Linked DNA regions of Homo sapiens: region 1 is linked to region 2. Evidence: promoter capture Hi-C in 16 types of primary human blood cells and fetal thymus (Javierre and others, 2016). All regions are on one chromosome and are shown on one strand. The core of a region is centred on a gene start or on the middle of the fragment in contact, and the rest is flanking DNA. Distances in the headings are between cores, read along the strand shown.

Evidence for each region. The method cuts DNA at HindIII sites, captures the fragments that hold promoters and counts their contacts. A CHiCAGO score of 5 or more calls a contact.
Region 1: a contact is called between a fragment that was not itself captured here and the fragment with the promoter of KLK14 in region 2, in 1 of 17 cell types (fetal thymus). The highest score is 6.7, in fetal thymus.

The regions. Positions count from the first base shown.
Region 1 is chr19:51,595,868-51,599,891 of GRCh38, reverse strand. It overlaps the pseudogene LOC339352. Among named protein-coding and RNA genes, the nearest start is that of LINC01530, 3.5 kb to the right of the region's middle. The HindIII fragment of the contact is 468 bases long and covers 2,038-2,505 here.
Region 2 is chr19:51,080,521-51,084,623 of GRCh38, reverse strand. KLK14 (kallikrein related peptidase 14) reads left to right here and starts at 1,737. Exons shown (of 6, transcript NM_001369775.2): 1 at 1,737-1,902; 2 at 1,988-2,049; 3 at 2,921-3,092. The coding sequence starts at 2,010. The HindIII fragment of the contact is 24,105 bases long and covers 1-3,390 here.

The DNA of each region.
Region 1 (4,024 bases), core at 1,022-3,521, 510 kb before region 2:
TATTGAAGTAATCATTGAGAGAAAATAAGAGTTGTCAGAGAGAAACCTATAAAGAAAAGGAGTTAAGAGACACAGTAGCATTTCAGACTGTGTGACTTTCGATGAGAGACACCTCTTCACATCTCTCTTTGTGAAGGGAGATACAAAGTCATTTCCCTCTACTAAAAATAGAAAAATTACCCAGGTGTGGTGGCAGGCACCTGTAAGCCCAGCTACTCAGGAGACTGAGGTAGGAGAATCGTTTTAACCTGGCACACGGAGGTTGCAGTGAGCCTAGACTGCACCACTGCGCTCCATCCTAGGTGACATAGTGAGACTCCATCTCAAAATAATAATAATAATAATAATAATGATAGCAGAGTATTCCAGCCTTAGCTCCTACAAGGTAGCCCCTCTACCTGCCAATGTGTGTACCAATGTGTCCAGAATTGGTTCCTTCCCCTGGGTTCTTGGTCTCGCTGACTTCAGGAGTGAAACCGCAGACCTTCGCAGTGTTACAGCTCATAAAGGTAGTGCGGACCCAAAGAGCGAGCTGCAGCAAGATTTATTGTGAAGAGCAAAAGCACAAATCTCCCACAGCGTGGGAGGGGACCCAAATGAGTTGCCGCTGCAGGCTCGGTGGCTAGCTTTTATTCCCTTATTTGGCCCCACCCACATTCTGCTGATTGGTCCATTTTACAGAGCACTGATTGGTTCATTTTACAGAGCGCTGATTGGTCCATTTTACAGAGTGCTTATTGGTCTGGTTTTACAGAGTGCTGATTGGTCTGGTTTTATAGAGTGCTGATTGGTGCGTTTACAAACCTTTAGCTAGACACAGAGCACTGATTGGTGTGTTTACAATCTTTTAGCTGGACGGAAAAGTTCTCCAAGTGCCCACCTGACCCAGAAGCCCAGCCAGCTTCATCTCTCACTAAGATGATGTCAGAGACCCAGAGGCTTGAAAAACCTGCCTTACTCCATCGTAGGGAGCCACACGTACTACCCACATGAGCCTTCAGTAGGCTCCGGCCCTAAATAGGCACATGCGTATTTCCCCAGCTCCTTACTGGGATCCTCCCGCTAAGCCACGCCCGATGCCCTTGTCTACAGCCATGAGCTGCAGTAAGATGCCCAGGCCCGGTGCCAGCGTGCGCAGCACGTGTGCCAGCACCGTGGAATCCTTGCCGCCCGAGGTGCCCAGGGCCACCACTGCGCCTGGCGGCAGCAGGTAGCCCACAAGCACCATGTGCTGCACCTCCGCCTCGAAGGCGGTGCAGAAGCAGGAACCGCACAGCACTTGGCCCGAGCATGGACGGCGGAGGGAGGCGCATGCCACGTGGCAGGAGGCACATGACGGGGCGGGCATTGCAAGAAGGGACAGCTTCTCCTAGACCGGGAGAGGAGGCGGGTTACACATGTTTCATTGCCTTTGAGGAGTTCCCTAGATAGTGCCCCTGCCTGGAATAGACCAGGGGCAGCTGTGGCTGCTGCTCTTATATACGTGGGTTATAAATGGGTTCTGGTGTAAGAAGGCCACTGCCTCCAGGAAGGCTTCCTGGACTGCACCCATTATGCACCAAGAAGAGAAGGAACTTAAGCTGATTTCAGGGGGAAAAAGAGGGAGCAACAAGCAGGTTATACCCAGAATTAGATCGTGTCCTGTCCAAAGGGGTGAGGGCGTCTATTAAGGACCAGTTGTAACAACTTCCAGGAGGCCACCCATGTTACAGCCCTGATCAGAAGGTAGATATTACTGACTATTCAGAGAGATTGGGAGGGGAGGGGTCAGAGACTCTTAAGGACAGAGGGAGGTCATGCTCTGTTCAAGGGAAGGGGGCTATACAGAAAAGACCAATTGGATTTCACTTTCAGGGGTCGGGGTGGGCATTCTGTCTCCAGGAATGGGTCCTGATTGTGTCTTACAAGGACATACACAGGCAGGCTAGATCAACCTCTAGGGAGACTAGCAGGGGTTGCACCTATTTTTGAGGTGAGGGTGTGTAGGCCTCCAGTTCTGAACTTAACCCCGCTCTGGTATCAGAATCCACCTAAGCTTCTGTGGCCCCCGAAAGACACAGAGAGGTTGGGAGGGGAGGGGTCAGTGATGGGGTTGGCTCATCCTTGGCCCCCAACTGTTCTCTTTCCTACCTCATCCCTCCCCACCCAGCCAAGACTCTAACTGTCCCATCGAACCTCCTTCGTCCCACTTGTCTGGTGAACCCATAAAAACTCCCCAGGCTTAGTCCCCCTCCTCAAGCCACCACCACCTCCAGCCTGCACTACTGCCGTCACATCCTTGCCATTCAGAGCAGGTCACGCTGCTTCTAGGATTTACCACAATGTGTGGAATTATTTCATATGACTGTGTATTTACCGTCTCTAACTTACATGCAAGTAAAGACCAGTGCCACTCAGATGTCTAATAAGCATCTCAAAACCCAAATTCCTGATTCCTCTAACCTAACGGGCTTCTCCTGGAGTACAGGGCAGCTCCATCCCTTCCAGCTGCTCAGGCCAGAAGCTTTGGGGTCCAGGACCCTGGACTGCTCTTTCTATCACTACAGTTGTCACTCTCCCAGTGGGTGGAGCCAAATTGCAATGCTAAGTCCGGACCCTTTCAAACTCCAGGTGCTCAAATGAAAAGTCACACATATTGTTTGACTATAGCTTCAAAACAGCCAAACACTTCTGACCATCTCCATGGCAGCACCCTAGTCAGGTCTGCCTCTCTCCTAGATGGCTGCAGGGGGCTCCTCACAGGTCTCCATGCTCCCTGCCTTGCCTCCTCCACACACACTCCTTCATATAACAGCCAGTGGGATCCTGCCCTGCATCTCATCTCACTTTAGTAACTACTGGCTGGGCACAGTGGCTCACGCCTGTAATCCCAGGACTTTGGGAAGCCGAAGCGGGTGGATCACAAGGTCAGGAGTTCAAGACCAGTCTGGCCAAGATGGTGAAACCCTGTCTCTACTAAAAATACAAAAAAATTAGCTGGGCATGGTGGTGGGCACCTGTAATCCCAGCTACTTGGGAGGCTGAGGCAGAGAATTGCTTGAACCTGGGAGGCGGAGGTTGCAGTGAGCCGAGATCGTGCCATTGCACTCCAGCCTGGGTGACAGAGCGAGACTCTGTCTCAAAAAAACAAAAAACAAAATGTAACTGCTAATGGCCGACGAGGCCCTACAGGCTCTGGCTCCTTGTTTCTCTGTCCTCATCTCCTTCCACTCTCCTTCTTGCTTACTGGTGTCTACTCTTGAGTACCCCCAGGAACACTCTTGTCTCTAGTTGTTTTCACTGGCTCTTCTCTTTGCCCAAAGCACTCTTCCCTGTCACTGAGCCATCAAGCAGCCCTCAGGACTCAACTGCGGTGATGTCAGGTACATCTGTCACAGCGGAGCAAAGTCCCCTTTGAAATACTTTCTCCCACAGCTTTTGATTTAGTCCTCCCTCTTTGTTCTTGTTTTTTGCCTCCTGCTTAATATCTTCTGGGGAGGCCTCTTCACAGTCCTCATATCCTGCCCATCACCCCTCTTCTCATTCTGTTTGTGGGTGACTCTGAATCGCAATGTCCACCAGCCTGGCCCTCCAAATGCCCCACGGAAGATCCCATCTAGGCCTCTCATATCTCAGTGCCCAACTGACCAGCTCTCACACCCCAAGGCAGAAACTTACCTAACCAAGCTCCCCGTCTCCCGGAAGCAACACCACCTTTCACCCAGCTTCTCTATGGAAGACAACTCAGCTTTTTCAACCTCTGAATCTGCAGTCACCTAGTACTGGGGTTCACTTCCTGAGGTCCTTATCAGATCCAGTTGCATCCCTGTTTTAGTTACCTACTCACCTCAGCCAGATGAACTTCCCATTGGTTTTTCAACCCCTTGCATCTTTGGCCAGGCTGATCTCATTGCGCAAGACACTTCCCTAAACACTGTGGTAGACCTAACTCTTACCTTCAAGTCTCAGCTCAAACTTTCATTCATTCATTTAACAAATACCCACTGAGTGCCGCCTATGTACCCAGCATGCTCTAGGTACTGGG
Region 2 (4,103 bases), core at 488-2,987:
AGCCTCCTGAGTCACCACGTGGTCCAGGTACGGGGCTGCCCAGGCCCAGAGACGGACACAAGCACTGGGGAATTTAAGGGGCTAGGGGAGGGGCTGAGGAGGGTAGGCCCTCCCCCAAATGAGGATGGAACCCCCCCAACTCCAGAACCCCCCTGCAGGCTGGCCAGAATCCTTCCCCATCTCATTCACTCTGTCTCTCCTGCTCTCTGCCGTCTCCTATTTTGAATTTCCAACCCCGTCTGTTAAGACTGTCCTTCTGTCTCTGAATCTCTGTCCCCTTCTCTTTCTGGGTCTCTCTCCCTCTCCCTCTGGGTCTCTGTCCCCCTCTCTGGGTCTCTGTCACTCTCTCTTTGCATCTCCAGCTCTCACTTTGTCTCTGCACCTAGCAGATCCCAAGCTGGGGAATGCCAGTTCTGGCACCAACCTTCCTGCTCCCTGCTGGGGCCTCTGCTCCCCCATCTCTCAGGAGTCGAAAGTGAGAAAGCAAGGTGGGCAGCTCTGCTCCAGGTCCAGGTATCTCCCGCCCACCTCCTGCCCGTCCTCTATCCCACCCCTCCTCTCCATCTCTCCCTGGCGCTGCCATCTCTCATCTAGGCCTCCGTCTCCTCTGTCATTGTCCCCATCCCCTGTAGGTGCCCATCCTTCCCGTCTCCCCTCTGCCATCGGCCTGCCTGTCCCATCCTCTTTCTCCCACCATGTCCCGTTCTCTTCCACGTCTCATGCCCGCACTGCCTTCATCATCATCGCTGTTGTTCTGTGTGTGTTTGTGGTGAGTGCCGCATGGTGGGGGCGTCTCGGCCTCTCTCCTCTCTCTCCACTGTTTTCTCTTTCTGTGTGTCTGTTTCCATTCTATCTCCACCTTCTTCCCTCCGTCTTTTGCTTTTCTATCTCCACTTCTCCACACCCCTCTCTCCCTGCGTCTCTGTGTCTCCCTCTTCCTCTGTCTTGTTTTTTTCCCACCGTCTGCCTCTTCTGTTCCCTGTCACATCCAACTTCCACCGGTTTCTCCAGCTCTCTCCTCAGTTCCTTCTCTCATGAGCACACCTGCCTCTGTGCTCGTATTCCTGGACTCCTCTCTCTCCACTGTCATATCTTCTCATTCATTTTCCCAGTCTCTCTCTGTCTCTTGCTCTCCCCCTCTCTGTCACTCTGTCTCTGTCTCTCTCTTTCTCTCTCTCTCTCTGTGTCTCTCTGTCTGGCTCTCTCTCTGTCTCTCTCTCCATCTCTCTCTCTCTCTCCCCCCCGTCACCCTGTCTCTGTCTCTCTCTGTCTGTGTGTCTCTCTGTCTTTCTCTCTCTCCATCTCTCTCTGTCTCTCTCTCTCTCTCTCTCTCTCTCCCTCTCTCCCTCCTCCCGTGACTCCCTCTCTCAGTCCATCTCTTCCTCCCTCTCTCAGCCCCTTCGTGCCCTTTCCTCTGACACTCCCCACCCTGGTTTCCTGACTCCACCACTAGATCCACCACCTCCAGCAACTGGGAACCCTCCCCTGCCCACCCTGCCCTGGGGTCCCCTCCCAGGATTCCTTCTAGATTATAGCATCTTCCCTGGGCGGGTTCTCATGAACAATTGTGGCTGCTTTTTTGGCCAGACAGGGGAGGGAGGGGATGGGATCAGGGAGTCCTGGAATGGGAACTAGGCAATAAAAAAAAAAAAATGTCAGAAGCAGGGCGGCGGGAGGTGGGGGCAGGGCCAGCTGTCCTTACCAGGGATAAAAGGCTTTGCCAGTGTGACTAGGAAGAGAGACACCTCCCCTCCTTCCTTCATCAAGACATCAAGGAGGGACCTGTGCCCTGCTCCACATCCTCCCACCTGCCGCCCGCAGAGCCTGCAGGCCCCGCCCCCCTCGTCTCTGGTCCCTACCTCTCTGCTGTGTCTTCATGTCCCTGAGGGTCTTGGGCTCTGGGTAAGTGCCCCTTGCTGTCTCTGCCTCTCAGCCCCCGGTTCTGTTGAAGGTTCCTTCTCTCTCACTTTTTCTCTGCATTTGACAGGACCTGGCCCTCAGCCCCTAAAATGTTCCTCCTGCTGACAGCACTTCAAGTCCTGGCTATAGGTAAGAGAACGGTTGGGTATGACACAAGGGGGTCCCCTGGAGACTCTGAGAAGAGATGGGGATGGGTCCTTGGGGCCCCTGGATGCTCATGGTGACCTCATAAGAAAGAGCAGGGAGTGGTTTGGGGGTCATGGTGGGGGAACGTGCTGGAGGCCTAAATTCCTAGTTGTGGAGGTGCTAGGGAATTGTGGGGCCGGGGAGAGAGGTGTTTATAAGGTCTGGTGCAAAATACATAAGGAATCTTAGGGAACTATTAGGTCCTGAGTGGGTCATAGCAGAAAGATCACGGGGCTCTACCTGACTGTGTTAGGAAAGAAACAATGTCAGAAAGATGTTTTGTTGTCAGAGGGAAGGTGGAGAAGGATGATGGGATGGCGGGATCGTGGCATGGGGTGGCGGGATCGTGGCATGGGTGTGTGAGGTGGATGGGGGCAAGTGTGGGGCAAGAGATGGCGGATCCTTGGGGTCCCACTGAGTGGGAACGTTGGGGAGGAGACAGGGAGGTCCTTGAATGTGTTGGGGAAGGACTCATTGGGGGGAAATGTGGCATATTTCGAGAAGTGATCACAGAAATTATGGGAGCATAGAGCTAAGGGTCGTAGATGTAGCAAGGCCCTGGATAAGGTGGCCACGGCACAAAATAAGAGATGCTACGGAGGTGACTTGGGAGGTGAGTCAGAAAGCTCTCCGTGCTGGGGCAATAACGGGGTCAATATTGGGCATGTCTCACCCTGGGTGGGACAGATAGAGGCGGGCAGTTTAGGGGTTAGACCAAAAGGAAGGGGATTTGTCAGTTTTGGAATCCTACAAACTTGTGGAGTGGAGAGTGTTTGCTCATCTACTTTCCCCACCCAATCCTGTCCACTCCTAGCCATGACACAGAGCCAAGAGGATGAGAACAAGATAATTGGTGGCCATACGTGCACCCGGAGCTCCCAGCCGTGGCAGGCGGCCCTGCTGGCGGGTCCCAGGCGCCGCTTCCTCTGCGGAGGCGCCCTGCTTTCAGGCCAGTGGGTCATCACTGCTGCTCACTGCGGCCGCCCGTAAGTGACCCCCTCCCCTGTCCCTGTACCTAGTGAATTCCAGAGTCTAAAGCCCTAGAGCTGAGCTGAGAACCTGGATCTCTGTATAGAACCCAATGTAGTGGCTGGCTCCTGGTTTGAGGTCTAGAGAAGAGCCTGGAACAAAAACACAGCTCGGGATGTGGGCTCCTCCATAAATCTCGAACTCAGCATAGGTTCTGAAAGCAGATGGGCAGCTTGGAACCCATGGACCTGCTGAGAACCGAACATCTGATCCAGTGATTCTTCCAGAGGCCACACATTACATCGAGACCAAGCTTAGCCCATTCCAGATTGGTGGCTGAATTCAGGACCCCGTCTACATTCAGAAACTCAGGACACTACGTAGAACTCAGAGCCCAGTTCAGGACCTGCAGTCTAGCCATAAATCCAGAACTAGAACGCTGCTCACAGCTGGAACATACAACTCTAAGAATAGAGGCAAAACCTGGAGGCTGTTTCACACCCAAGGTTTAGTTCAGAGTCTAGTCTATAGCTCCGCTATGAGCAGACTTCAACCCAGTGTTTGAATCCCAGAATGTGGCGGGTGCGGTGGCTCATGCCTATAATCCTAGCACTTTGGGATGCTGAGGCAGGCAGATCACCTGAGGTCAGGAGTTCGAGACCAGCCTGAGCAACATAGAGAAACCCTGTCTCTACTAAAAATGCAAAATTAGCCAGGCATGGTGGCACATGCCTGTAATCCCAGCCACTCGGGAGGCTGAGGCAGGAGAATCACTTGAACCTGGGAGGCGGAGGTTGCAGTGAGTCAAGATCGCACCATTGCACTCCAGGCTAGGCAACAAGAGCGAAACTCCATATCAATCAATCAATCAATAAATCCCAGAATGCAGATCCTAATCAGAAGCCCCATATAAAACCTAGACCCCTCCTAAATTCTAGATCTGAACTTACAACCCAGACCCCAGCCAAGAGGTCAAAATGCCTATAAGCCATATCTATGCCATAAACAGGTCAGTCTAGAACCTAGAG